7 separate regions of the Homo sapiens genome follow, and regions 1, 2, 4, 5, 6 and 7 are each linked to region 3. Evidence: promoter capture Hi-C in 16 types of primary human blood cells and fetal thymus (Javierre and others, 2016). All regions are on one chromosome and are shown on one strand. Each heading gives the region's core, a stretch centred on a gene start or on the middle of the fragment in contact. The rest is flanking DNA. Distances are from core to core; before and after follow the strand shown. Region 1 has its middle 5.0 kb from the start of AQP10. Region 2 holds the start of SNORA58B (small nucleolar RNA, H/ACA box 58B). Region 3 holds the start of ILF2 (interleukin enhancer binding factor 2). Region 4 overlaps ATP8B2 (ATPase phospholipid transporting 8B2). Region 5 overlaps LTAP1 (lipid transport auxiliary protein 1). Region 6 overlaps HAX1 (HCLS1 associated protein X-1). Region 7 overlaps UBAP2L (ubiquitin associated protein 2 like).

Region 1 (3,790 bases), core at 236-2,735, 650 kb before region 3:
GGGAAGGGAAGGGAAGGGAAGAAAAAGCATTGGTATCTTGAGGGCCATTCATAACTCATGAGTTCTGACAAAAGGTGATACTCTGGAAGATTCATAAGTGTTCAGTTTAAGGAAACATTCAGTAAGCTTGTCCTCCATTCCTATACAAAGATTACAACAGCTATACATTCCACAACCATAAAGCAAAATAAGTAAAATTATCCCAAGTAAACTAAACTAGAAGGCTTTCCATGAACTGAGGAACTGTTGGAACCACGCTGATATGAGGTTGCTAGATGATTCCAGTACATGCCCAGAATTAGAATATTGATGCAGATTTTTACATTACCCATCCCTCTTGTTTCTTCTGAGCAGCAGTCAGAGGCCACTGGTTGGTTCACAGGACTAAGCAGGGTTAGCCTAAATTGCAGAAACAAACTTAAAGACAACTGATGAGACTGGAATTTAATAACAAGTGTATCATAGTTCTTGAAACATAATTTTTCTCTCTCCAGTTTCCCATTTTTATGAAAGACCATTTTTATGGTAAGACCAATGTGCTTTATTATACTTGGCCTGATGATTGTATAAAGTGCAGCAAGAATAATTATTTTTCACGTAGGCTTTTAAAATTGGCTTTGATGGAACTCTGTTCCATAGAAAGAATCTTGGATAAGACTTTTTAAAGCTGAGCCCTGCCATGGGTTTGTGCCCTCAAATACCTTTGAGTTGGGTAAATTCTTCCTCTCCTTTTGAGGTCCCCAGATAACTTGGGGCTCCTGGACCTTTTAGAAGGTGACATTCTTTACTTACCACAGGTCAGAAACCCTGTACAGGGACTGTGTAGGCAAGGTTATGAGCCCAGGTCGCTAAGTGGCTTTTATAGGCTTTACAAGTCAAGTTTGATTCCTTAATGGAAAGCACACCATTCCAGTCAAACCCTTCATAAAATAAACAATTTCTCCAATTGTGTCCTGTTGCAAAAGAAAACAGATTCTTATTACCCTTATGCAAATAACTGCATTGCCATAAATTAAGAATACACACAAATAATTTCCAAATTCTGGAGAAATCAAGTAGAGAGATGCATATACTCCAAATTTTGTTCACAGGAGTATACTTTACTCGATTATTAAAAGCTGTAAATATCTGAAAAGAAAAGTTGCCTTGACTCTAAAAAATAAAACAAAGGATCAGCAATGTTTTAAGCAAAGGCAAAAAGATTGCTTTAGTCTTCTTTAGTTTATGCAGTTAACTTTTGTTTGATATCTATGAACATTTCAGCTCCCCATGAGAGTTCTGAAAGTTGTTTCCTCTATTCTAATGTCACAATCTCCAAAGTTATCAGAAACCTGCATTTAAGTGCACCTGTTAAAGTCCTATGGCTGATTATAAACTACCTTCTAAAGAAGATCAAAACAAGACAACAATTGTCTGTGGATGATAAAAAGTCTTAGGGCCAGGTGCAGTGGTTCACATCTGTAATCCCAGCACTTTGGGAGGCGGAGGCAGGTGGAACATTTGAGGTCAGGAGTTTGAGACCAGCCTGGCCAACATGGTGAAACCCCGTCACCACCAAAAATCCAAAAATTAGCCGCATAGGGCAGGTGCCCATAATCCCAGCTACTCAGGAGGCTGAAGCAGAGGAAGTGCTTGAACCCAGGAGGCAGAGGTTGCAGTGAGCTGAGATCGTGCCACTGCACTCCAGCCTGGGTGACAGAGCAAGAATCTGTCTCAAAAAAAAAAAAAAAAAAGTCTTAGGACAGCCACTAGTAAAGCCACAATTAACTAGGAAATTTTGGTTACTTCTGTTGCATACAAAATTTTATGTAACAATTATTAATAACATACGCTAAGTCATATTAGAATTATAGGAATTTCTCATAATTTTGGAACATGTACCAATAACACATTTAATCTAATGCTCCAAAGTAGATAAACTGAACAATTTTTTTTGTTGTTGTTGTTTTTTGTTTTTTGGGTTTTTTTGTTTTTTTAAGACAGAGTCTCCCTCTGTTGCCCAGGCTGGAGTGCAATGGCATGATCTCGGCTCACTGCAACCTCTGCCTCCTGGGTTCAAGTGATTCTACTGCCTCAGCCTCCTGAGTAGCTGGAATTACAGGTGCGCACCACCATGCCTGGCTAATTTTTTGGTATTTTTAGTAGAGATGGGGTTTCACCATGTTGGCCAGGTTAGTCTTGAACTCCTGACCTTGTGATCTGCCTGCCTCAGCCTCCCAAAGTGCTGGAATTACAGGCGTGAGCTACTGCACCCAGCCTAAAATTGAACAATTTTTAATAGTCAAAGAAGCAGCTTATGACCTTAAAGAATTTAGCAAACTTAATATCTGACCTGTATAATTTAGACCAAATGTTTACATTTTTTTTTGTTTGTTTGTTTGTTTCTTTTTAGTCAGAGTCTCGCTCCATCACCCAGGCTGGAGTGCAGTCGCTCAATCTCGGCTCACTGCAGCCTCTGCCTCCCGGGTTCAAGCAATTCTCCTCCCTCAGCCTCCCAAGTAGCTGGGACTACAGGCTTGCACCACTACACCTAATTTTTGTATTTTTAGTAGAGATGGGGTTTCACCATGTTGGCCAGGCTGGTCTCGAAATCCTGAGCTCAAATGATCTGCCCGCCTTGGCCTCCCAAAGTGCTGAGATTACAAGCATGAGCCACCGCACCCGGACAAAATGTTTACATTTTTGAAGATTTTTTATTTTACCAATAATCTTTAAAACTGTATTTATTTCCCAAAGATTACTTAAGTCACATGAACTAAATAAAGGGTATTCCACTTTTTACTTTTCTGATAAAATGTTTGATTTAAGCAATTCTTATTGTTAAACCAATTAATTAAAGCTTTTCCATATATAAACATTACACACATAATACATATAAATACACAGACAGACAGAAGATAAGGATCATCCCCTAAACTGGGAATTGGACTTTAAACCAGGGCTGCCATTATGAAAAGAGAAAGCATGGCCACATGGTTACAAGGTCAAGCTGCTAAGGACATACAAGACAAGAAGGAGGCCGGGCATGGTGGCTCATGCCTGTAATCCCAGCACTTTGGGAGGCTGAGGTGGGCGGATCACCTGAGGTCGGGAGTTCGAGACCAGTCTGACCAACATGGAGAAACCTCATCTCTGCTAAAAATACAAAATTAGCCGGGCATGGTGGCACATGCCTGTAGTCCCAGCCACTCAGGAGGCTAAGGCAGGAGAATCGATTGAACTGGGAGGCGGAGGTGGCAGTGAGCTGAGATTGCGCCATTGCACTCTAGCCTGGGCAACAAAAGCGAAACTGTGTCTCAAAAAAAAAAAACAACAAAAACAACAACAACAACAACAAAAACAAATAGGATGAAATGTGAAAGCATTTGGAGCTCATGCAAGAAAGAATTCAGGGCGAGTCCATACAGTAAAGTGAAAGCAAGTTTATTAGGAAAGTAAAGGAATAAAAGAATGGCTATTCCACAGACAGAGCAGCCCCGAGGGCCACTGGTTGCCTATTTTTATGGTTGTATCTTGATTACATGTTAAACAAGGGGTGGATTATTCATGCCTCCCCCTTTTAGACCATATAGCATAACTTCCTGTTGTTGCCATGGCATTTGTAAACTGTCATGGCACTGGTGGGAGTGTAGCAGTGAGGAAGACCAGGGGTCAGTGTGGTCATCTTGGTCTTGGTGAGTTTTCGCTGGCTCTTTACTGCAACCTTTTTTATCAGCAAGGTCTTTATGACCTGTATCTTGTGACAACCTCCTACTTAATCCTATGACTTTCTTTTTTTCTTGAGATGGAG
Region 2 (3,836 bases), core at 1,205-3,704, 590 kb before region 3:
GGCTGTTGGAAAGGGGTGGCCGATGCATTCACACTGACATTCACACCATGCTGCTTGGAAGAGGTAGGAGCCACCTAAAGAGCAAAAAGGCCAGATTTGCAGTGACTTGGCAGCAGAATACCATCTGTCCCACTTGTCCTGCTCCAGGTACTGGCCATTCAGATGGCTACCTATCCTGATGCAAGTTGACTACAGTTTGCTTAGTGAAATTAGCTCCTTACTAACTGTTCTAGAATCTACTAATGAAGTCAAGAAATGGTAGTTTGGAGGAAGAAAAAGGGACAATGGCAGCAGGGAATGAATGAATCTGAGTGAAGCAAAGCTGTATGGTATCATATTCTCCCTTTGGCAAATTCTAAGACTAGGCAATCCCTATCCTAATTCCACCAATTCCAGCCCCATTCCCCCACCACCCTGCATCAGGCCAAAAACAGGCCAGAGGTGGAAACTGTTCCTCCTCATCCATTATTAAAGTCATTGACCCTTAAAAGCAGCTAGGATAGTGTCCAGGGCTAGGATCCTTCACCACAAGGAGTGACCAAAGCCAGGTACTCACAGGGAACACAGCAGGCCCATACTGGAAGGTGCTGGGGAGGCCCGGGACCCCTGTATAGTATGGCAGGCTGGTGTAACTGTAGCCAGGAGGCAGCGCCGGGTTCAGGAATGTCTGCTGCGTGGTATGGTGAGTCTGCGTCTGGTTCTGTTGGGGTTGGGCCAAGGTTGTGGCCGGGGCTGGGGAGGAGGCATCCCCACGGCCGAACTTTGTGAGGTCACCTGTGACAGGAGAAGCTAAATGTACCTGCCTCTTTCACCCCAATACCAATACAGAATTACCTCTTCTGATTTCACATGATTCCAGGAGATCCTGTTCAAAGACTATTAAAGTTCAATTCCTTGAATTACATTTCTTAGTGGCTCCAATTATTGTTGCTCAGCATACACTTAGCACAGTTGCTGCAAGTCAAGGACTAATGTTGAATAACTGTGCAATGCTATGGCAGGAGGCTCTTGGAATAAGGCACCTGCACAATTTCTCTGCCCACTTGTGTTCTCTTTCATCTTCCCTCTTCTTCCCTCCCCTCTTCTCCTCCATGGGGAATACCCCATGCTGGACTTGAAGGACAACGATGGATCAGGGAAAACGGTAAGTCAATGAGGACAATGATAGGTCAGGTAAAAGAAGGAGTGGCAAGGCAGTGAGATTGCCACTGTGAGTAGTAGCATAAAGGGGCAGAGATGAGCAGAGAAGACCACCTCAACCACTGTATTTCCTGGAAAAAGCTAGCAAATGGCTTGAAACTAAGTCAAGATATCACTTTTTTTGGAGATGGGGTCTTGCTATGTTGCCCAGGCTGGTCTTGAACTCCTGGGCTCAAGCAATTCTCCCACCTTGGCCTCCCAAGTAGCTGAGACTACAAGTGTGTGCTACCATGCCTGGCTAAGATATCATCTAGAAATCACAGGGAGACAACACAAAGTGGGATGAATAGGAAAAGCCATGACATGCCCAACTTTAGCAGGATTTTGAATCTACCAATCCTGATTTATCACATCCCTTCTTGCTACCAATCAGGTGTCTGCCATCAATCCCAACACTATCTCCCTTTTTATTTATTTAGTCCCATCCCAATCCTACCAGAATAAGGGTTGCTGGCCAGGCTACCATCCCTCCCAGTCAGCGGAGTAGTGGGTGTGGGAAATGGGATGCTGTAGTAATCCTAGAAAAGAGGGGAAAAAAGAGCAGAGATTCAATGTCACTCATTCCCCAGCATGAGTACTATTTCCACGGAGGAAAAAACAGAAGAATGTGAGAGTTGTGCAATTTATCCAGTCACTAATTAAGCTGGCTAGAGTTAGCACAAACTCCACATTACTCTTGCATACACTGTCCCCCCTGCCTGGCCATGAGCACAGTCAGACAAGGTCTACGGGTATGCCCACTTGAGAATACATCAAAGTCCACGAGGACCAATATTTTCAACCCTCTAGGTGTCATCCCTATCAGTTTATACCAAGCTTATTCTACTGAGAAAACAGATCATTCGATAATTTAAAGTGTCTGGGACAAACAGAAAGCACCCTGAGTGCTCCAGAGTACTTTACTGGGCTATAGAATAGGTTAAAATGTATTTACTAAGATGCCACAACTCTGATTTAAAAAAAGAAAAAAAAAAGGCTGGGTGCGGCGGCTCATGCCTATAAGCTCAGCACTTAGGGAGGCAGAGGCGGGTGGATCATAAGGTCAGGAGTTCAAGACCAGCTTGGCCAAGATGGTGAAACCCCGCCTCTACTAAAAATACAAAAAAAATTAGCTGGGGGTGGTGGTGGGCACCTTTAATCCCAGCTACTCGGAAGGCTGAGGCAGACAATTGCTTTAACCCAGGCGGCGGAGGTTGCAATGAGCCAAGATCACACCACTGCACTCCAGCTTGAGCGACAGAGAAAGACTCTGTCTCAAAAAAAAAAGTTATCTTCTGTTGGAAACCCTCCCCCAAATCCCTATATTCTAATATGCCTTAAATCAGAGTGTATGGAGGGCTGGGATGGGAAAGAGCTATGTCTGTGACGGAGATAATTCTCCCAACACTAATTTTAAGACTACTTTCTTTTCCAAAGCTCTATCCCACATACTCACCAATGGAAATCTTGTCTGAAGCATCTGCAAGTCATCATAACCATATACTTGTGGCTGAAAGATACAGACATATAGCAATAACAGGAACTGGTCATGATGTTAGCAAAACAAGGAGCCAAGAGACAAGCTAATTCAACAGAACATTCATCCTCATTCTGGGTTAGAACAGGACACGGATTATTTCCTTCAATTTTATTTAAGGAAAAAGCAGTAAAGTACACAGAGATTAAATGATTCATGAAAGGTCTTGAAGCTTTCCTTGAGCTAAATACTACTGATTCTAGTAGGCTGGCTTCTTGATACCAATAGAGTAGACACAAAACATACACGAACAACCAGTTTTACTCTCTATTCTACAAGTCTCTGTCTCTTATACTCTTCAAAATCTGGCTTAAAAATAATCTCCTCTGGAAAGAATACTTCACTTTTCTCCAATGTCAGGGTTTTAAGGTAGTGACCACAAATTAAAAATGTGTAACTGTGTTATTTGGATGTGTCATCGGTATGAAATTTATCTAGACTTTGTCTATGAGGGCAGGAACAGGTATCTTCTAAAACGTTTCCATATATCCTTCATCTTAATAGGTACCAAATACTTGAAGGTCACAGAAGATACACTAGGGCAAAAAGCTACTAATGTCAGCCACTTATTCTCAAAGTCCCAGATTGAGTCAGGAAACTTTCCTCTAACCAGGCCAGACCAGCAAACACACTCAGAGTTAGGGATTTAATCAAATCAGAGAAAATAATTCTTGGGGCCAGGAGTAGTGGCTCAGGCCTATATATAACCCCAGTTATTTGAGAGGCTGAGGCAGGAGGACTGTCTGAACCTGGGATTTTGAGACCAGCCTAGGCAACATAGGAAGACCCTGTCTCTAAAAAAATTTTTAAAACTTAGCCAGGCATGGGGATGCACACCTGTAGTCCTAGCTACTTGGGGAGTCTGAGGTGAGAGGATTGCTTGAGCCCAGGAGTTCAAGGCTGCAGTGAGCTAGCTATGATCGTTCCACTGTACTCCAACCTGGGTAAAAGAGCAAGATCTGCCTCAAAAAATAAAATAATAGTCATAATTATCTAAGAAACCAAAAAGGATTCCAGATGAACATTCTGGCCTTTGGCTTCTGAGGCCCAGAAGCTGTGTTTCAAACAGGGCAGATATTCTCATCACACATATACATACACATTGTACGCACACACACAC
Region 3 (4,205 bases), core at 156-2,655:
TAAATAAAATGAAATAATAGAAGAGAGGGTAAGAGACAAAGAGATTACTGGGGGAAAAGTCTAACCCGTCTTTATTTGGAGTTCAGGAACGAGGGAAATAATAGGTAAAACTAATACTTGAAGAGATAATAGCTGATAAATTTAATAAATGGACGACAAACCTGAAGCCATTGATTCAAGAAGCTCAACAAACCTCAAGTAAGATTTTTTTTTTTTTAAACGGAGTCTCCCTCTATCGCCCAGGCTGGGGTGCAGTGGCGCCATCTCAGCTCACTGCAACCTCCGCCTCCCGGATTCAAGAGATTCTCCTGCCTCAGCCTCCTGAGTAACTGGAATTACAGGCGCCCGCCAGCACGCCGGCTAATTTTTGTATTTTTAGTAGAGACGGAGTTTCACCATGTTGGCCAGGCTGATCTCGAACTCCTGACCTCGGGTGATCCACCCGTCTCGGCCTCCCACAGTGCTGGGTGGCCACAAGCCACCGCACTCGGTCCGCTTTTTGTTTGCTTGTTTTTTAAAAATTAATAATATTTATTTTAATCTGGATGGTGGTTACGTGGCCAGAATACGTTTAGACTTAAGATGTTTACGTTCTGCTGTAGTAAATTAAATATCGAAAAAGTACTTATGGAAGGGAGGTAGGTGAGGGATAAAAGTCTACAAGTTGGGTTCAGTGTATACTGCTCGGGTGATGAGTGCACCAAAATCTCACAAATCACCACTAAAGAATTTATGTAACCAAGCTGGGCGCTGTGGCTCACGCCGGTAATCCCAGCACTTTCGGAAGCTGAGGCGGGTGGATCACCTGTTTCCATGGACATGGAAAACCATGTTTTCCACACTAATTCAATCAATATACTCCTCTCCTATCTAAAACCTGTTTCTCCTGCTTCGAGTTTGTAGACGTGCAGTGTTCATAGTTGCCTAAACTCCCTTTTCCCCATCAACTTCAACTGCTAGTGGCAAAAATAGCTGATATTGGTTGCATTTTTGAGGTAGGAAAATTGGCAAGATATTTTCCTTCACTAAAGAAACGTAGATTACGTATGCCGTACAGGGCAATGAAAAAACTCCGATAGCAGAGGATGGTTTCGATCCATCGACCTCTGGGTTATGGGCCCAGCACGCTTCCGCTGCGCCACTCTGCTATCTAGAACTAAAATTTCTCATGATTGTTATAGAACACTACGTAGTCGTTGTCCTGACTTCTTTAGTGCCACCTAATGTCTGATCAAAAATTCGTCATTACTATAGAACCAGTTCTTATTGGCTAGTTCCTGACACAGTAGGCGTTTTTTATTGGTTCATAAGCCCGGTTTGACAAAGTAAGCCAATAGGCATAAGCGATGGGGTAAGGCGGGAGCCAATCGCACCGGGTTTTATTGGGACACGCCGGCAAGACGCCTCTTCAGTTGTCTGCTACTCAGAGGAAGGGGCGGTTGGTGCGGCCTCCATTGTTCGTGTTTTAAGGCGCCATGAGGTAAGTGGGTCGAAGCGGTCGAAAGGTTTCAGGTATTCGACGGAAAACTTTGTGAACGTGGGCCGAAAGAAGTCGGAGTATCAGAAAGGGCCATGTATCCGGGGGCTGGCCAAAAACCTGAGAACTCCTGGTCTAGGATAGTGGGAGAGATGGAGGCCGGTAGAGGCGGGGAAACTTGGGCCCGGGATGGGGTTCGGGCCCAGGAGTGGGGAGGGGGGTTCGACACCTTTGTCTCTGAAGGGTTGCGATGAGGGGGTGTCCTCAAGCCCCTGGAGGAGCTCCCCACCTTTCCCCCGCCCCCGTCATCCGGGCTGAGAATGCTGGAGCGAGCCGCATTCATCCTCAGTGCGAAGGCCTTGACATTAGGACACGCCCGATAAATGTGTACCTTAGTGAAGAAATGAGCAATCTTTAGCCTCCGAAGTATTAGGATTCGTGTGGCCCAGGATTATGGGTTATTAAGTGTAGGGCTCACTGAGCCCCATCATTACTTGATGGGGGTTGGATTAACTTAGAGGAGGTTATGGGGGTGTAACTGGGCACCATTTGGAATGGGGACAAGTGTAAGTGTGAGTGGGGTCTCTTGCCTACCGTTGGGAGGTTCCGAGGGATGAAAGTAGCCAACCTAAGATGATATGGCCGGTGGGTATTCCTTCAATGAGGTCAAAATAAAATCTGCATTTCTAGGGGTGACAGAGGCCGTGGTCGTGGTGGGCGCTTTGGTTCCAGAGGAGGCCCAGGAGGAGGGTGAGTACCAGCTTTTAGCATCTCTGCACTTGGTTGTTAGTTTCTGCTTGTCATCTAAATAGGAGTTTTAGAGTAGACTAATGTCACTTGGTTTTGCGAGAGCCAACTGTGGTCTTTTCCTGCACTCCTGTTAAATGAATTTGGCCCCACTATGCTAAGAATGATTCTTTCCCTCCCCGGAGACTTTGTCACTCATTCTGAGGACTGACATGTTTTCAAAATTGTTGGCGTGTTATTTACATCTCGCTTGATTCCTACCTAGGGAATAATTTGGCTGTTTTTCATGTTTTAGGTTCAGGCCCTTTGTACCACATATCCCATTTGACTTCTATTTGGTGAGTACCTTGGGTTAATGATACACATTTTCTGGTCACTGTTGAAATGGAGCCCAGTATCTCCCAGTTAATGAAGTTAGATGGTGGTTGAAGAGGGCAGACACAGTGCCTCACGCCTGTAATCTCAGCACTTTGGGAGGCCGAGGCAGATGGATTACCTGAAGGTCAGGAGTTTGAGACTAGCCTGGCCAATATGGTGAAACCCCGTCTCTACTAAAAATAAAAAAGTTGGCTGGGCATGTGTCTAATCCCAGCTACTTGGGAGGCTGAAGCAGGAGAATTGCTTGAACCCGGGACGCGGAGGTTGCAGTGAACCAAGATGGCACCACTACAAAAAAAAAAAGATGGTTGAAATAGGGAGGGAAAGTGATTTGTGAAAAGATTTGGGGTTTTGAGTCAACTGTGTGTTGCTTTACATACAGAAACAGTGTAAGCATGGTGGGGAGAATAATTCCTTGGCTACTGTTGGCATTAAACATGATTATAATCTTTGTTCTGAACAAGTAATTGTATTTATGGTATATCTGTTACTATAAAGATAGTGATAGCTTAAATTATGGCTATTCCAGCTTTTATCCTTGTTTGAACTTTTTATTTTTTTTGAGACAGTCTCACTCTGTCACCCAGGCTGGAGTGCAGTGGTGCAATCTTGGCTCACTGCACTGAACCTGGGAGGCAGAGGAATCAGGACCTCTGCCTCCAGGGTTCAAACGATTCTCCTGCCTCAGCCTCCTGAGTAGTTGGGATTACAGGCACCTGCCACCATGCCCAGCTAATTTTTGTATGTCTGTTTAGTAGAGACGGGGTTTCACCATGTTGCCCAGGCTGATCTTGAACTCCTGACCTCAAGTGATCTGCCCACCTCAGCCTCCCACGGTGCTGGGATTACAGGTGTGCGTGACCCACTGTGCCTGGCCTTTGAATAAATTTTTTTTTTTGAGGCAGGGTCTCACTCTGTTGCCCAGGCTGGAGTTGCAATGGCGCGATCTTGGCTCACTGCAACCTCGCTTCCTGTGTTCAAGGGATTCTCTCACCTCAGCCTCCCAAGTAGCTGGGATTACAGGTGTGAGCCACCACGCCCAGCTATCACCTCAGCCTCCCAAGTAGCTGGGATTACAGGTGTGAGCCACCACGCCCAGCTAATTGAACAAATTAAGCAGTAAAAACAAGTGTAGAATTTTCTGTTTTTAACCTTTTTCTGTCGTAGTAATAGAAAAAACAATCTCTCCTGTATATTATCTTCGGCAAATAGAATGTAGTTGTTTACTTCTGGTTTAGTGTGAAATGGCCTTTCCCCGGGTCAAGCCAGCACCTGATGAAACTTCCTTCAGTGAGGCCTTGCTGAAGAGGAATCAGGACCTGGCTCCCAATTCTGCTGAACAGGTATGTTCTTTTGGCTGTCTTCCAGAAATGTCTCTAAAGCAGTTAAAAGTATTGGTAAAGAGTAACTGTTGGTAAGGTTAAGAATGGTGTTAACAGAGCCTGAAATCCACAAAGGGTTTAATTGTTCTCCTTATTTCTCATTGTGGGTGGAGATAGCCAGGTGGATATATAAACAAATTACATATGCATTCTTATTTTTACTGGGGACAAAGAGTTGTTCTCTTCCCATATATTCAAGGCCAGAATGAAGTGTTTTTAAA
Region 4 (4,046 bases), core at 1,375-3,874, 670 kb before region 3:
GCACAGCGCATTGTGGTGGTTGTTGTTTGCTTGTTTGTTTTTTGAGCTAGGGTCTCTGTCACCCAAGCTGGAGTGCAGTAGTGTAATCATAGCTCACTGTAGCCTCAAACTCCTGGGCTCAAGCAATCCTCCCACCTCAGCCTCCCTAGTAGCTGGGACTACAGGTGCACACCACCACACCTGGCTAATTTTCATTTTTTGTAGAGATGGGATCTCGCTGTGTTGCCCACACTGGTCTTGAATTCCTGAACTCAAGAGATCCTCCCGCCTCCACCGCCCAAAGTGCTGGGATTACAGGCGACAGCCACCATGCCTGGCCCCTATAGTGCCTTTAACATCTCCAGGTCTGTTCGTATCCTCTTCTTTGCTAATCATATGCACTGTTAGCATTTCCAGAAAGGGCCATGTTTAGGTCCAGTGCAGCCGAGCAATGGGGCCCTATCGAGAGCCCTGCTTCCCACCTGACTAAGGCACCTATCAGGATCCCATTACCAGGCAAATGGGAATGTCTTCACATTCCAAAGGGCCTTTTCCTCACACAGCTCTTCAACCCCCTCTTAGCCTCCCGAAACATACACACTGTGACCTGATGAGACTCAGAAAGAAAACTGCTTTAGCTGCTCCCAAGGGCTTCAAGTGAACTGAGATACAAAACACAGATAGCAAAGCCCATAGGTGGGAAAACAAAATTAGGTTGTAAGCACAAAGGCATTTAAATAGTAATGCAGAAGGGAGTGGCAACAGTCACAATGAGCAGGCTACCACCCAGTAACTGTACAGTCACTTAAGTTTAAAATGTATCTTCTAAGCCAATATCTTATATCAAGACATCCTATTAAAAGGTGAGACAAGTACTCCTGTTCCTGTTTCACGTGGGAAAACTAAGATCAAGTGAGGCCCTGAGTGACCGTGGATTTTCCTGAGGTCACATGGCCAGTGAGGAGGCAGGACTAAACCCAGAACCTCCCAACTCTCCTCTTCACACCCTGGAAAAGCCTAAACTATATTCTCTCAGCACAGAAATGCTGTATCTTCTATTTATTATCACCAGCAGTAAGATTGGGGGCTGGGAGAGAGTTGAGGGCTATTTGGGGAATCTGTATGAACAAAAGATGGGAGACAGGACAAGTTTTCAGCACCTCCATAAAACATTTCCTTAAAAATGTCACAGGTTCCCTTATCTCAAGTGCAAGGCACTAAGCAAGAAAGTTCCTTTCCCCTGGCCATTCCTCCTGCCTCGTCTTCCTCCGATCCTCCCCTTCATTCTCACTGGCCTGTCCCTGCTAACATTCTCTTTACCTCAAACATCCTACATGTTGCCTTGATCCTATTCATGCTGTACACTACTGCCAGTCAATACTTCCTAAAGCATTCTTTAGTTTTTTTTTAGAATGCATTTTTTTCTTTTTGTGGGGGAGGGGTTCCAGTGAAAACTGGAAAACCTGCTAGACAAATTCTAAAAGAGCTGTAACACTTAGAATGCATTTTTAGAATACAGAATACATTCTTTTGACTTTCTTCAAAAACTTTTTTGTTTGTTTGTTTGTTTCGTTGTTTTTTGAGACACAGTTTCGCTCGTTGCCCAGGCTAGAGTGCAGTGGCGTGATCTTGGCTCACTGCTACCTCCACCTTCCGGTTTCAAGCGATTCTCCTACCTTAGCCTCCCAAGTAGCTGGGATTACAGGCAACCACCACCACACCTGGCTAATTTTTGTATTTTTAGTAGAGACGGGGTTTCAACATGTTGGCCAGGCTGGTCTCGAATTCCTGACCTCGTTATCCGCCCACCTTGGCTTCCCAAAGTGCTGGGATTACAGGTGTGAGCCACCGTGCCCAGTCTTTTCAATAACTTTTAATGGTTAGTAAATACAAAGTCCACAGGCAAATATTCAAAAGCCTCCACAATCAGGAGCAAGCTATGTTTCCAGCTCTTGCTCTTGGCCCAAGACCCTGGCCAACTATTTCCATAGGCCATTCCCAGGCTCCCATCTCCACACCTTTGCTTCCAGCCCTCTCAGCCTCCTCTCCATTGTGGCTCCACCTTCATCCAGCCCAGTCACCACTCAAAGCCCAGAGCAAATGCCATCTCTCCCTCTCTGCCTACCTGCTTAGGGAGCGACACTCTCCCAGTCCCCGGGCACCCTGTGCCTCCCACATGGTATCTCAGTCTGACACTGTCCAGATCTCCCCTCCTCGACCTATCCATCTGCTGCTGCTAAAGGCAGAGGCCACCTTATACATCTCTGTATCCCCAAGCTTCACATAGAAGACTCTAGGTCGAATTCTACAGCACTGGTTCCTATTTTGTTTTATAATGTGTTTAGATTTTCCTTCCTTTACTAGACGTAAGCTCCTAGAAGGAAGGAGATCCATTCCTAATTCATCTTTTATTTGTGATGGCACCTAGCACACTTCTTTGTACACAGTAGGCATGTAATAAATAGGTGCTGAATAAATCAATATTTTTTTTTCTCTAATACAGTCCCAAGTACCAGGAAACTGTGGTAAAAAGTTTGCTCTGCCCACAAAGATAAACAGATAACATCAAATGTTTACAGTACAGGAAGAAGAGGACTTCTCGTTACTTCTCAAGGACTTCATCTTCATAGAAAAGAAAAGTTCTATGGGACCGCCTGACTCCCTGGAGAGACCCCAGGTCAGAGAAGGCACATACCTGACATAGAGTGAAATGGGCACAACGGTGTTGAGGATGATGATGTAGGACCAGAAGGAGAGGAAGCCAGAGAAGAAGGCACTGTCCACTGCCTCATCCCACGGCAGGTAGACCTGGAAACGCATCCCCACCTCGTGCTCCCAGATGGCATTGCCAATGGCCAGGATCACCCCCATGCAAACCAGGAATCCAAAAATCTGGGGAGGAATGAGAAGCACAGGCGAGGCTGACATGTAGGAAGCCCTCAAAACCAAGTGCATCTGTGATGTATTCATCCCTTGAGCCCTCAAAAGCTCAGATGCTCTAGTGCAAGCTTGTCCAACCCATGGTCTCTGGGCCACATGTGGCCCAACACAGATTCATAAACTTTCTTAAAACACTATGAGATTTTGGTAACAGCTGAATGTTAAATGAAAAATAATTATAAAAAAAAAAAAAACTATTATGGGCTGGGCGCAGTGGCTCAAGCCTGTAATCCCAGCATTTTGGGAGGTTGAGGCGGATGGATCACCTGAGGTCAGGAGTTTGAGACCAGCCTGGCCAACACGGTGAAACCCCGTCTCTACTAAAAACATTAAAAAAATTAGCCAGTCCTGGTGGCACTTGCCTGTAGTCTCAGCTACTCAGGAGTCCAAGGCATGAGAATTGCTTGAACCCGGGAGGCAGACATTGCAGTGAGCCAAGATCATGCCACTGCATCCCAGCCTGGGCAACAGAGCAAGAACCTGTCTCAAAAAAAAAAAAAAAAAAGGCCAGGTGCAGTGACTCACACCTATAATCCCAGCACTTTGGGAGGCCAAGGCGGGCAGATCATGAGGTCAGGAGTTCGAGACCAGTCTGGCCAACATGGTGAAACCCCATCTCTCATCTCTACTAAAAATACAAAAAAATTAGCCGGGTGTGGTGGCGGGCACCTGTAATCCCAGCTACTAGGGAGGCTGAGGCAGGAGAATCACGTGAACCCGAGAGGCAGAGGTTGCAGTGAGCCGAGATAATGCCATTGCACTACACTCCAGCCTAGTGACAGAGTGAGACTCCGTCTCAAAAAAAAAAAAAAAAAATTTATGAGATTTTTTTTTGCAATTTTTTTTTTCTAAGCTTATCAGCTATTGTTAATGTTAGTGTATTTTATGTGTGGCCCAAGACAATTCTTCTTCCAATGTGGCCCAGGGATGCCAAAATATTGGACACCACTGCTCTAGTGGAAAAAGCTCAGAACTGGTGACAGGTTCTAGTCTGTCACCAATTATCATGTGGCCTTCTGTCTGACCATTATTTCATCTATATGATGAAGAAACTGAAATAGTTGATTAGCTCTCAATCTGGCACCTTGAAACCTTCCAGAGTCCTCAAAGTTGGTAAGAGTGGGGAT
Region 5 (4,235 bases), core at 424-2,923, 540 kb before region 3:
ACCACTTGTGCCTGGGAGGCAGAGGTTGCAGTGAGCCAAGATCATGCCACTGCCCTCTAACCTGGGCAACAGAGTGAGACACTGTCTCAAAAAAAAAAAAAAAAAAAACTGCTTAGAGCACTGATGAAAATGAACATGTAGAAAGGCTGGAAAAGGGCATTTGGTCTAGAAGTCAGCAGAAGCCTGTTCAAAATTCACTTTCTTTGAAAGATAAATACTAGATGATTCCAGTTATATGAGATACCTAGGTAGTCAAACTCAGAGACAGAAAGTAGAATGATGGTTGCAGGGGCTGGAGAGTGGGGGAAATAGGGAGTTGTTCACTGGGTATAGTTTCAGTTTTGCAAGATGAAAATGTGGAGGTTGGTTGCACAACACTGTGAATATACTTAACACTACTGAACCATACATTTAAAAATTCTTAAGATGGTAAATTTTATGTTACATGTATTTTACCACAATCTTTTTAAAAATTATTTCTGAAGGCCAGGCATGGTGGCTCACGGCTGTAATCCCAGCACTTTGGGAGGCTGAGGCGGGTGGATCACCTGAGGTCAGGAGTTCAAGACCAGCCTGGCCAACATGGTGAAACCCTGTCTCTACTAAAAATAGAAAAATTGGCTGGGCATTGTGGTATGCACCTGCAATCCCCAGCTACTCGGGAGGCCGAGACAGGTCGCTTCAACCTAGGAGGCAGAGGTTGCAGTGAGCCAAGATTGTGCCACTGCACTCCAGCCTGAGCAACAGAGAAAAAGACTCCATCTCAAAAACAAAAAATTATGTTTGATTTGTAGTTTCTAGGAATGTTCATTGGGTTTAGTGAAGAGTATAGGCTTTGAAATCTGACAAACTTAGGTTTGAATCCCAGGTCTGTCACTTAACTAGTTTTGTGACCTCATACAAGCTAATTATTGGACCCTTAGTTTCCTAATCTGCAAAACAAGGTGATACCTATATTGGGGATACCTGTCTCTGAAAAAAAAGCTTGAGCCAGAGGCAAGAACTCTGGGAAATTGGTTTCTCTGCTGCTAGTTGTTTTTGGTATGAGTAGGTGTGTGTCAGGGTACCCAAACAGGGCCTTTATTCTGTCACCCAGGCTGGAGTGCTGCTACTTTTTTAGGGTGTGTGTGAGAGAGAGAGACAGGGTCTCAGTCTGTCGCCCAGACTGGAGTGCAGTGGCACATTCATGGCTCACTGCAGCCTCGAATTCTGGGTTCAAGCGATCCTCCTGCCTCAGCCTCCTGAGGAACCAGGACTACAGGTGCTTGCCACCATACCTGGCTAATTTTTTGCAGAGATAGGGTCTCACTTTGTTTCCCAGACTGGTCTCAAACTCCCCTGGGCTCAAGCGATCTCTGGCCTCTGCCTCCTGAAGTGCTGGGATTACAGGTATAAGTGACCATGCCCAGCCTCTCTGCTACTTTTTTTTTTTTTGAGATGGAGTCTTGCTCTGTCACCCAGGCTGAAGTGCAGTGGCGCAATCTTGGCTTGCAACCTCTGCCTCCTGGGTTCAAGTGATTCTCTTGCCTCAGCCTCCCGAGTAGCTGGGATTACAGGCACCCGCCACCACTCCCAGCTAATTTTTGTATTTTTAGTAGAGACAGGGTTTCACCATGTTGGCCAGGCTGGTCTCGAACTCCTGACCTCAAACAATCCACCTGCCTGGGCCTCCCAAAGTGCTGGGATTACAGGCGTGAGCCACCGCGCTCAGCCTCTTGTATTTCTAAGCTACTAGATGGGGTTTTAGTAACTAGTTTACAAAATAGGACAGATAGGACACAAATAACTATTTGTGACTATTGCTGCATTTATGGCCTGGGATAAGCCCTGATTTCTTTGATTAGTCCTCATTCTGTCAATGACCTCCCCTCTCTGTTCTTCAGGGTTAAAGCACGAATTGGGAGCTCTCAGCGACATCACCAGTCAGCAGCCAAAGACCTAACTCAGTCCCCTGAGGTCTCCCCAACAACCATCCAGGTGACATACCTCCCCTCCAGTCAGAAGAGTAAACGTGCCAAGCACTTCCTTGAATTGAAGAGCTTTAAGGATAACTATAACACATTGGAGAGTACTCTGTGACGGAGCTGAAGGACTCTTGCCGTAGATTAAGCCAGTCAGTTGCAATGTGCAAGACAGGCTGCTTGCCGGGCCGCCCTCGGAACATCTGGCCCAGCAGGCCCAGACTGTATCCATCCAAGTTCCCGTTGTATCCAGAGTTCTTAGAGCTTGTGTCTAAAGGGTAATTCCCCAACCCTTCCTTATGAGCATTTTTAGAACATTGGCTAAGACTATTTTCCCCCAGTAGCGCTTTTTTCTGGATTTGCATTCAGGTGTTATTCTTAATGTTTCTGTCAAAGCTTCTTAAAAATCTTCACTTGGTTTCAGCCATAGTTCACCTTCCCTGTTCCAGGTTTATTTAATTCCAAAGGTGAGAGTTGGAGTGAGATGTCTTCCATATCTATACCTTTGTGCACAGTTGAATGGGAACTGTTTGGGTTTAGGGCATCTTAGAGTTGATTGATGGAAAAAGCAGACAGGAACTGGTGGGAGGTCAAGTGGGGAAGTTGGTGAATGTGGAATAACTTACCTTTGTGCTCCACTTAAACCAGATGTGTTGCAGCTTTCCTGACATGCAAGGATCTACTTTAATTCCACACTCTCATTAATAAATTGAATAAAAGGGAATGTTTTGGCACCTGATATAATCTGCCAGGCTATGTGACAGTAGGAAGGAATGGTTTCCCCTAACAAGCCCAATGCACTGGTCTGACTTTATAAATTATTTAATAAAATGAACTATTATCAAATAAAACGTATGAATCAGTCCTTTATAGTTGTCTTTTAATAAAACAGGCATTTGATAATGTTATCTGCACATTTCTAACAGGGTATAGGGCATGAGGATTTGCCTCCAGAGAATTGGTGGGACTGTGTGCATACCCTGGACCTACGACCATACACATACTCCTTGGGACCCTAGCACAAGAAATCCTAAAATCAGGACTGTGGCCCTTGCTCATAGATGCCTGTGTCACCAACAGAAGGCTGCAGAACAAGGATTCTCTCAAGGTTTCTGGGGCAACAGGCCAGGTGGCCAATCAACTCCTAGGCCCAGGGTTATTGTTGGAGGTGTAAATGTTACTATGACTACTGAAACCTTGGTTACTGAACTAAACAGAGGAGCCTGTCAGTCTCCTCAGACTGTATCAAGCAAATCTATAGACATGTCTGTGGAAAAGATGACAAAAGTAGAAGAGGTATGCAGAGTTGGAAGGAGGGGCTGGGTTGAAGTTTGATGAAGTTTCCAGATCAATTTACTATAAGTGCATCTTTTACTGGGAAAGGCTTTTGATGTAACAAGGGTATAATGTAGTTAGTAACAGGAGTGGGAGGCTGTGTCTAGTACACAGTAGGTATTCAAATATGTGTTCTATCCAACCCCTGCGTGTTTTCTTTGATCCATTCTGAAAGTAGAGCTTTCCTCTCCCTATTTCCCCCCAGGAAATTGCTTTCTCAAAAAGGTCTATGTGGCTGGGTGCGGTGACTCACGCCTGTAATCCTATCACTTTGGGAGGCTGAGGTGGGCGGATCACCTGAGGTCAGGAGTTCGAGACTAGCCTGACCAACATGGAGAAACCCCATCTCTACTAAAAATACAAAATTAGCCCGGCATGGTGGTGCATTCCTATAATCTCAGCTACTCGGAGGCTGAGGCAGGAGAATCGCTTGAACCCGGGAGGCGGAGATTGCGGTGAGCCGAGATCACGCCACTGCACTCTGGCCTGGGCAACAAGAGCAAAACTCTGTCTCAAAAAAAAAAAAGGTCTATGTCTCTCATTAGAATAGAGGTTCTGGAGACTGAGGCAGATCAACAGAACTACCTTTTCTTGCAGAGTTTTCAAAAGGCCATGGGACTTAAGAAGACGGTCGACAGGTAATCTGCTTCTATCCCCTCCCTTTACCTTTGAGCTTGACCTTTCCACTCTGCTGTCTTCCCTGAGCCACCTCCCAACTCTGCTGCATCTCTTTAGGGGCTCATCAAGAGGAAAACAGATGCGGAAGGGGTGAGAAGCAGCCTTGTCCTCAAAGCAAATGAGATCAGCCTCTTAGTGCCTACTAGGTTAGGTGATATAGATTGGTTTTTATTGTCCCCTGCCTCATTCTCTGGAGAAAAATTGAAGCATGTTTTTATTTTCTTTTTTTATCAAGAATTCAAGTATTTGTTGCCTGGCTTT
Region 6 (4,047 bases), core at 1,196-3,695, 610 kb before region 3:
TGCCCAACCTTGTTTTTTAAAAAGAAATATTTATATATTTGTGCATATTTTTTCCAAATTGGACCCAAATTAATACCATATACAAACAAAAATTCCAGGTAGGTCTAAAAACCTAAACGTAAAACACAAACTTATAAAGATAAATTAGGCTACAATAAATCAACTTCTGTTCACCAAAAGATACAATAGAGAATTAAAAGACAGAGCTTCATTACTATCATCTCCTGTCCTTTGTTCTTGTGATATACCTCTTTAGAGAAATCCCTTTGTCATAATTTAGTGGGATTTCCAGAGGAAACAGAAGTAAATAAATATGTCAGATTTACCACTCTCTTTTTTTTTTTTTGAGATGGAATTTCACTTTTGTCGCCCAGGCTGAAGTGCAGTGGCACAATCTCTGCTCACTGCAACCTCCACCTCCTGGGTTCAAGAGGGTCTCCTGCCTTAGCCTCCCTAGTAGCTGGGATTACAGGCGCCCACCCCCACACCCAGCTAATTTTTTGTATTTTTAGTAGAGACGGGATTTCACTATATTGGCCAGGCTGGCCTCGAACTCCTCACCTCAGGCTATCCACCCGCCTCAGCCTCCCAAAGTGCTGGGATTACAGGCGTGAGCCACCATGCCCGGCCACCACTCTTTTTTTTTTTAAATATTTATTTTTTATTTTATATTTTGAGACGGAGTCTTGCTCTGTTACCCAGGCTGGAGTGTATGGTGCAATCTCGGCTCACTGCAACCTCTGCCTCCCGGGTTCAAGTGATTCTCATGCCTCAGCCTTCCGAGTAGCTGAGATTACAGGCCCGTACTACCTTGCCTGGCTAATTTTTGTATTTTTAGCAGAGACAGCAAGTTATCCGCCCATCTTGGCCTCCCAAAGTACTGGGATTACAGGCGCGAGCCACCACTCTCGGCCTTTTTTTTTGAGACAGTCTCACTTTGTTGCCCAGGCTGGAGTGCAGCAGCATGGTCATGGCTCACTGCATCCTTGACCTCATGGGCTCGACAACGTCCCACCTCAGACCCCTGAGTAGCTGGGACTACAGGCATGCACCACCATGCCCAGCTAATTTTTAAATTTTTTTGTAGAGACAGGGTTTCCCTATGTTGCCCAGGCTGGTCTCAATTGATCCTCTCCGCTCAGCTTCCCAAAGTGCTGAGATTACAGGTGTGAGCCACTGTGACTGGCCCCAGATTTGCCCCTCTTAACCACAGTACTAAAAGCTTTTGTTGTTGTGATTGGGTCTCACTCTGTCGCCCAGGCTGGAATGCAGTGGTGTGATCATAGATCACCGCAGCCTCGAACTCCAGCCTCCAGGGATCCTCCTGTTTTAGCCTCCTGAATAGCTGAGACTACAGATGTGGGCCACCATGCTCAGCTAATTTATTTATTTATGTTTTTTGAGATGGAGTCTCGCTCTGTCAACCAGGCTGGAGTGCAGCAGCACAATCTCAGCTCACTGCAACTTCCACCCCCTGGGTTCAAATGATCCTCCCGCCTCAGCCTCCTAAGTAGCTGGGATTACAAGTGTGCACTACCACACCCAGCTGATTTTTGTATTTTTAGTAGAGTTGGGGTTTCACCATGTTGGCCAGGCTGGTCTCGAACTCCTGACGTCAAGTGATCTGCCCACCTTGGCCTCCCAAAGTGTTGGGATTACAAGTGTGAACCACAGTGCCCAGCCTGCTTGAACTCCTGACCTCAAGTGATCCACCCGCCTCAGCCTCCCAAAGTGCTGGGATTATAGGTGTGAGCAACGATGCCCAGCCTGCTCAGCCAATTTTTAAAAAATATTTTGCGGGGCGTGGTGGCTTACGCCTGTAATCCCAGCACTTTGGGAGGCTGAGGCAGGCGGATCACAAGGTCAAGAGATCGAGACCAGCTTGGCCAACATGGTGAAACCCTGTCTCTACTAAAAATACAAAAATTAGCTGGGCGTGGTAGCACGTGCCTGTAGTCCCAGCTACTCGGGAGGCTGAGGCAGGAGAATCACTTGAACGCGGGAGGCAGAGGTTGCAGTGAGCCGAGATTGCGCCACTGCACTCCAGCCTGGGTGACAAAGCGAGAGTCCATCTCAAAAAAAAAAAAAAAAAAAAAAATATATATATATATATATATATATTTTAGAAATAGGATCTTGCTATGTTGCCTCCGCCTCCTGGGCTCAAGTAATCCTCCTATCTCAGCCTCCCAAGTAGCTAGGATGATAGGTACAGTCTAACACACCTGGTTAAAAACTTTTATAATGAGAAAAGGAAGCCTGGGCAACATGGCAAAACTCCGTCTCTACAAAAAATACAAAATAATAATAATAATAAAAGGAAAAAAAACGAGAAAAAAAATTAGCTAGGCATGGTGGTGTACGCCTGTAGTCCCAGCTACTCAGGAGGCTGAGGTGGGAGGACTGAGCCCAGGTCGAGGCTACAGTGGGCCAACATCGCCCCCTACACTCCAGCCTGTGTGACAGAATGAGACCCTGCCTCAAAAAGAAAAAAGGACCTAGTAACGTTTGTGCCAGGTGTATTTTCTCTAACATACATAACAATTTTTTGAGATGGAATTTCGTTCTTGTTGCTCAAGCTGGAGTGCAATGGCATGATCATGGCTCACTGCAACCTCCACCTCCTGAGTTCCAGCAATTCTCCTACCTCAGCCTCCCAAGTAGCTGGGATTACAAACATGTGCCACCACATCTGGCTAATTTTTGTATTTTTAGTAGAGACAGGGTTTCACCGTATTGGTCAGGCTAATCTCGAACTCCTGACTTCATGTGATCCATCTGCCTCGGCCTCCCAAAGTGCTGGGATTACAGGCGTGAGCCACCACACCCAGCCACATAACAACTTTTTAAGGCCAGTAAAGTAAGGGAAATTTACCCATGTGCTTCCCCAGTTACTTCATGAACTCTCCAGTCAGTGATCCCACACTCAGGGAAGCAGTTAACCCCTACTTCCACACCCACACCCTTTTTTTGGGAATCTGATGTATCCCTCTCTAGAAATTTTCCTGAAATTATTTCTAGTCATCTCCTCAGTAAGAAAAATCATTTTTCTTTTTCTTTTCTTTTCTTTTTTTTTTTTTTTTTTTTTTTTGAGATGGAGTTTCACTCTTGTCGCCCACGCTGGAGTGCAATGGCGTGATCTCGGCTCATTGCAACCTCCTCCTACCAGGTTCAAGCGATTCTCCTGCCCTAGCCTGGGATTACAGGCACCCGCCACCATGCCCAGCTAATTTTTGTATTTTTAGTAGAGACAGAGTTTCACCACATTGGCCAGGCTGGTCTTGAACTCCTGACCTCAGGTTATCTGCCTGTCTCAGCCTCCCAAAGTGCTGGGATTACAGGCATGAGCCAACGAGCCCGGCCTCTTTTTTTTTTTTTCTTGCTTGAGAAAGAAAAATCATTTTCTACTTGTGCCTGACCCTTACTTATGAAATCAGGTTTTAGATGCAGAATAAAAAATTAAGGAATAAGGAGAAGGCAGAGGACCAAGATAATTTCGGAAGTGTTGGATGGTTCTAGAAACTGAAATAGCCTTGACAAAACCAAGACAAAAAATTAGCATAAATAAAGGTTTTATTGGTCAGTTTGGGTGAGTGACAAACTGACATGGCCCCAGTTCACTATTCCACATATCCAAGCCCCTGAGGTGGCAAGAGAAGCTAAGCTTATTAATGGTGGGCAATGGGTGAGAGGTGGAAAGGACTTGAAGGCCTCTGAGGGTTAACAAGGCTACCGGGACCGGAACCAACGTCCCAGGAATAAGTCCAGGATGGAAAAGGCATCATCCAGGGCTGGAGGTCTTGGTGATTCTGGATCTAAGGAAGAAAGTCATACACGTAAATAGGCTAAATGAAAGAGACTAGGCAGAAGCAAAGGACAAGGGTAGAAGAGTAAGATTTCCCTTCCCCAAGGAATCTTGAGATGAACCCCTTTGTCTTTTAACTTACCACCCCTAGGACTGCTATCTGCTTCGTGTCGGGTTACTGTAGTCTCTGTCCGGCCCTCACTGTCCACCACAGTCCGGCGCTCCTCCACTATCTACAAAGA
Region 7 (4,243 bases), core at 51-2,550, 570 kb before region 3:
GGAACATAATTTGCCCATTTTCACAAAGCAGTCTAGTTCATTGATTATACAATAGAAAATAATCACCCTGTGATGCTGATGCCTCTGAAATTTAAAAAACCCAGAATTGGCAACCAAAACAGTCTTCACATGTCATTTCCTCTTATCACAAAAGCTGTCTTGCCTAACTACATGAAAGTATAGAAAAGTACATAGATTAAAAATGTTAAAACAAGAGTTTATCCATGATCACTGAAAACCATAATTCACAGCAGAAGCTTGACTGTGACCAGGAATCAGCAAAATTCTTACTCAGGTAGTACTCAAATGAATTCACAGAGCTTGTTTACGTGCCACCCATCTATGAGGTTTCCAAGTTAAGTCAAGCTGGCAGATAGCCAATTCTACAGATATTCATCTCAATCACAATTATACAGTTGGGCTTCAAATAAATACAAGGGTTCCAGAGTCAACCAGATTACAAGTTTGAGGATTTGGTACCACAACACTCGCTTTGGATCCACTGCCAATCCATTACAGGACCTTATAGCAAATACTTAAATGCACCAAGTAGTCATGTACCACCAGCAGCTGTTACTCAATGCACTACCTGCCTAACTCCACTTCTGGTGCCCTACCCAACCACCAATCTCTTCCTGGGATAAATCCGACAATCAGATATTGGACTTACACAAGTGCACTTGCCCTTTCCATAGTGTGGTTCCACAGAGTCCTGTTCATGCCCAGTCTCCTTCATATAACATATGTGAAATGTTCTGGCTCAGAACACTATTTTGGATGTAAAAGTTTTGGGTCAGAATCTTAAGGGTGAATTTTGAGGGGTAGAAACATACCCATTTTCTATCCCTAAACAACACTTAGGGATAGAAGGCATTAGTGAGGAATGACCTGGGAATACCTACATCTTCATTCCAATCTTCAGTCCCCCACTCCTCTGTTGCAGTCCTCCATGCACCTGAGAATAAAGAAAAATAGTGAAGTAACTTCACTATTAAATGCCAGTACAAAGCATGTATAGAAAACATCAATGTATTAATTTTTTTGGCAGCCAAAAGTATGACTAAAATTTAGTAATCAGAAGGCCAGGTGTGGTGGCTCACACCTATAATCCTAATACTTTGAGAGGCCGAGGTGGGTGGATCACTTGAGGTCGGGAGTTCGAGACCAGCCTGACCAACATGGAGAAACCCTGTCTCTACTAAAAATACAAAATTAGCTGGGCGTGGTGGCACATGCCTGTAATCCCAGCTACGCGGGAGGCTGAGGCAGAAGAATGGCTTGAACCTGGGAGGTGGAGGTTGCAGTGAGCTGAGATCGCGGCATTGCACTCCAGCCTGGGCAACAAGAGTGAAACTGTCTCAAAACAAACAAAAACAAAAAACAAAACAAAAAAAAAGAAATTCTTGGGCTTCAAAGGTAAGGAAACACTCTTTAGAAAAGGATATCTCAGAGTACCAGGGTTTTAATAAGATTATGATTTCATAGCTACTTTCAGTTTTTGTTACAAAGCAGGAATGGGGGTGGGGGGGGGGACAGACAGACAACCACCCAATGCTCAAAGCAGTATCTTTAAGGTCCTCAGGTTGATTTAGTGGTCAATTCAGTGAAATGGCAGCAGCCAATTTAAACCATAACATGCAAACTACACCTATTTATCTAGTATAAGACAAAAAATACTGTAGGCAGTCTGAAGAAGGATAGTAGCACTGATAGAGAAACACAAATGGTTACCACATAATGGTTAGTGAAAGAGCAGTGAAGAAGGGTGGGTTTGAAACCCGAACTGAGGGCATTGAAAACTATCTGCTATGAGAATTAGATTAAAAATGCATACTCAGCAGAAGTCAAGTTTATAGATCTTATTGGTTTAACTGTATAAGAAAAGCCCCTATAGAGCTGTCCTCTTCAAAAGACAATGAACAAGACTGAAAAATCAGGTATGAATGATAGTTACTGTCCTAACCTTACTCATATAGAACTTGAAACCTGACCTGCTATGGTCATGGCACAGACAACGGGAGTATACACTGTCCTTGTGTTTGTTGGTAATACGGAAGCTGGGATACAGTTTCTACTGGAGAAATCCAAAAGCAATCAAACCACCTTCCACATTCCTTTTTTGTGCTTCATGTATACATATATTTTCAGAAAAAAAAAAATGTCCTTTCTTAAAAAATAAGGGTGAGAATTTCTAACAAGAACCAGGATTCTTCCCTTCAGCCAAAGGCACAGTAAAAACAAGAACCTGTCTGAAGAAGGGACAAGAGCACCCTTATTTTCTTGCTAGAATAATATATATTAAATAACTCTTCAATCCTTCCCTCCTACTGGAAAAAAGCTTATAAGAATGAAATGAAAAGTCTGACATTCAGATGCTGTGCCACTGAAGAGAAGTATTCTAACACCACATTAGAAGTATTCTAATACAAAGCCCATCTAAAATTCTTCTAAACATTTAATAATGCAAAAATCTTCTTTCTTAGAGGAAAATATATTCATTGTAAAGACTTTCCCAGGAAAATATTAAAATTGCACCAGGGAAATCCTAAACCACTTAATAATGACAATATTCTCAAAACCAAAGTCCAATCTCAGTACAGACAAGTTACAAACCACATTCTTTTCTCCTTCATTGATACCACACTTTCTTCTCATTGACATCCATCTTATCCTGGCTCGATGGAATCCAAGTTGCATTAGCACTTATACACAATCCTAGAGTTAGACATGATCTAACAGGTTATTTAATCTAGGCTCTTGATGCAAGAATTTTTTTCTGCACACTGATGACTTCAACTGGGATGGAAAGGAGGAACGTAGACACCTAACTGGTATGTTCCTATTCAGGATATACGGTCATGGCTGAGGAAGAGAGAGAGCTGAGGAAGCATTAAGGAACAGAATAGATGGAAATGCTCTAAACAACAGACTAGGGTTTCCATTCCATTAGCAGAAAGCAATCAGTGTAACTGTCAAATATTCATTAAATGAACAGAAAGGTAAGTGGACACAGAAAAATGAGAGAAAAAGGCAGAAAGAGAAAAAGCAGAAAGACATAAAAATGACATATCCACAGATATTTCAGCTCATAAAAATCTACAAAAATATCTGGGGCAGTTAGGCACCTGGATGTATCATACCAGGAGCAGTCTGGGGGATAATTTTGGGGGATAATTTGACCCCTCAACCCCAATGAAATCAAGTCCTGAAACAAAAAAAAAAGAAAAGAAAAGAAAAAACAACCAGTGAAATTTTGCTTGTAAATGAGAAAGTCTGCCCCAATACATAATCCCCATTGTACCTGTGGATATTTTAAAGGTAGGTTTGGATTTTTTTTTTAATTTAAAGGGGAAACTCAAGTTTGCTATCAGGAAAACACAAAAAGAAACCATGCATGAAGGTATGTTCATATCATGAAATTAACAACGACCAGGCGTGGTGGCTCACACCTGTAATCCCAGCACTTTGGGAGGCCAAGGCAGGTGGATCACTTGAGGTCAGGAGTTTGAGACCAGCCTGGCCAACATAGTGAAACCCCATCTCTACTAAAAATACAAAAATTAGCCAGGCGTGGTGGCGTGCACCTGTAGTCCCAGCTACTCAGGAGGCTGAGACATGAGAATAGCTTGAACTCAGGAGGCAGAGGCTGTAGTGAGCCAAGATCGCACCACTGCACTCCAGCCTGAGTGACAGAGCAAGACTCTGTCTCAAAAAAGAAAAAAAGAAAAGAAAAAAAAAATTAATGACAATGGGAATTCATGAAGCTATAACCAACACTTTTGCACTAACAAGACGATAGTGGCGTCACATTCAGCTACAAATCAGATTTCCAATTCCAGCCTTGCACATCTGCTCCCTTTTCTACTCAGTAGAAATTAACACACACACTACCTTTCGCTGTTTTTCCAACCAGATCCTTACTGAAGACAGCGAAGGCTAAGGACTGGGACCCCATGCCTGAATTTCTATTCACAACTAAAAACAAACTTTTCAACTTCTGCCATCTTACCTGCCAAAGATAAAAAGCCAAATACCCAGGAATAAGCTACAGCTCAAAAACAGTAACTTATTTGTTATTGAGACTGCTACCACTGCCTCTACAAAGCCATCAAGAGATGAATGAAGAACAGTTCTAATGCCTCCGAAGTATAGTAAGTTAAACTATAACAGGACATTTCGTAACTAAATGATGCAGAAATTCAAAGATACCTATCTTGTAACTCAACTTCAGCCTCCACCCATG

The links. Contacts are between HindIII fragments. The CHiCAGO score rates a contact against its expected background, and 5 or more counts as called.
Region 1: a contact is called between a fragment that was not itself captured here and the fragment with the promoter of ILF2 in region 3, in 1 of 17 cell types (total B cells). The highest score is 6.0, in total B cells.
Region 2: a contact is called between a fragment that was not itself captured here and the fragment with the promoter of ILF2 in region 3, in 2 of 17 cell types (total B cells and naive B cells). The highest score is 8.2, in total B cells.
Region 4: a fragment that was not itself captured here is called in contact with the fragment with the promoter of ILF2 in region 3 in 2 of 17 cell types (total B cells and naive B cells); the score reaches 7.3 in total B cells.
Region 5: a contact is called between a fragment that was not itself captured here and the fragment with the promoter of ILF2 in region 3, in 1 of 17 cell types (naive B cells). The highest score is 5.4, in naive B cells.
Region 6: a fragment that was not itself captured here is called in contact with the fragment with the promoter of ILF2 in region 3 in 2 of 17 cell types (monocytes and naive B cells); the score reaches 6.2 in monocytes.
Region 7: a contact is called between a fragment that was not itself captured here and the fragment with the promoter of ILF2 in region 3, in 2 of 17 cell types (total B cells and activated CD4 T cells). The highest score is 6.4, in total B cells.

What each region holds. Positions count from the first base shown.
Region 1 is chr1:154,314,189-154,317,978 of GRCh38, reverse strand. No RefSeq gene overlaps it. Among named protein-coding and RNA genes, the nearest start is that of AQP10, 5.0 kb to the left of the region's middle. The HindIII fragment of the contact is 2,713 bases long and covers 129-2,841 here.
Region 2 is chr1:154,257,830-154,261,665 of GRCh38, reverse strand. It overlaps UBAP2L (ubiquitin associated protein 2 like), which reads right to left. Exons shown (of 27, transcript NM_014847.4): 21 at 2,636-2,689; 22 at 1,637-1,718; 23 at 557-774; 24 at 1-74. It overlaps SNORA58B (small nucleolar RNA, H/ACA box 58B), which reads right to left and starts at 1,939; the gene lies at 1,804-1,939. The HindIII fragment of the contact is 872 bases long and covers 2,019-2,890 here.
Region 3 is chr1:153,668,193-153,672,397 of GRCh38, reverse strand. ILF2 (interleukin enhancer binding factor 2) reads left to right here and starts at 1,405. Exons shown (of 14, transcript NM_004515.4): 1 at 1,405-1,480; 2 at 2,168-2,227; 3 at 2,520-2,562; 4 at 3,841-3,945. The coding sequence starts at 1,476. TRX-CAT1-1 (tRNA-iMet (anticodon CAT) 1-1) reads right to left here and starts at 1,148; the gene lies at 1,077-1,148. RefSeq lists enhancers at 136-185, 196-275, 826-965 and a silencer at 1,006-1,385. The HindIII fragment of the contact is 12,664 bases long and covers 1-4,205 here.
Region 4 is chr1:154,336,173-154,340,218 of GRCh38, reverse strand. It overlaps ATP8B2 (ATPase phospholipid transporting 8B2), which reads right to left. Exons shown (of 28, transcript NM_001370597.1): 12 at 2,675-2,871. It also overlaps the pseudogene RNU7-57P. Among named protein-coding and RNA genes, the nearest start is that of ATP8B2, 13 kb to the right of the region's middle. The HindIII fragment of the contact is 731 bases long and covers 2,259-2,989 here.
Region 5 is chr1:154,205,297-154,209,531 of GRCh38, reverse strand. LTAP1 (lipid transport auxiliary protein 1) reads left to right here. Exons shown (of 7, transcript NM_001098616.3): 7 at 1,884-2,812. The coding sequence ends at 2,079. CFAP141 (cilia and flagella associated protein 141) reads left to right here and starts at 3,199. Exons shown (of 4, transcript NM_001010979.3): 1 at 3,199-3,257; 2 at 3,894-3,934. The coding sequence starts at 3,225. The HindIII fragment of the contact is 1,373 bases long and covers 987-2,359 here.
Region 6 is chr1:154,275,384-154,279,430 of GRCh38, reverse strand. HAX1 (HCLS1 associated protein X-1) reads right to left here. Exons shown (of 7, transcript NM_006118.4): 6 at 3,948-4,038; 7 at 3,556-3,815. The coding sequence ends at 3,730. Among named protein-coding and RNA genes, the nearest start is that of HAX1, 4.8 kb to the right of the region's middle. The HindIII fragment of the contact is 2,442 bases long and covers 1,225-3,666 here.
Region 7 is chr1:154,238,225-154,242,467 of GRCh38, reverse strand. It overlaps UBAP2L (ubiquitin associated protein 2 like), which reads right to left. Exons shown (of 27, transcript NM_014847.4): 9 at 903-955. Among named protein-coding and RNA genes, the nearest start is that of SNORA58B, 19 kb to the left of the region's middle. The HindIII fragment of the contact is 2,081 bases long and covers 260-2,340 here.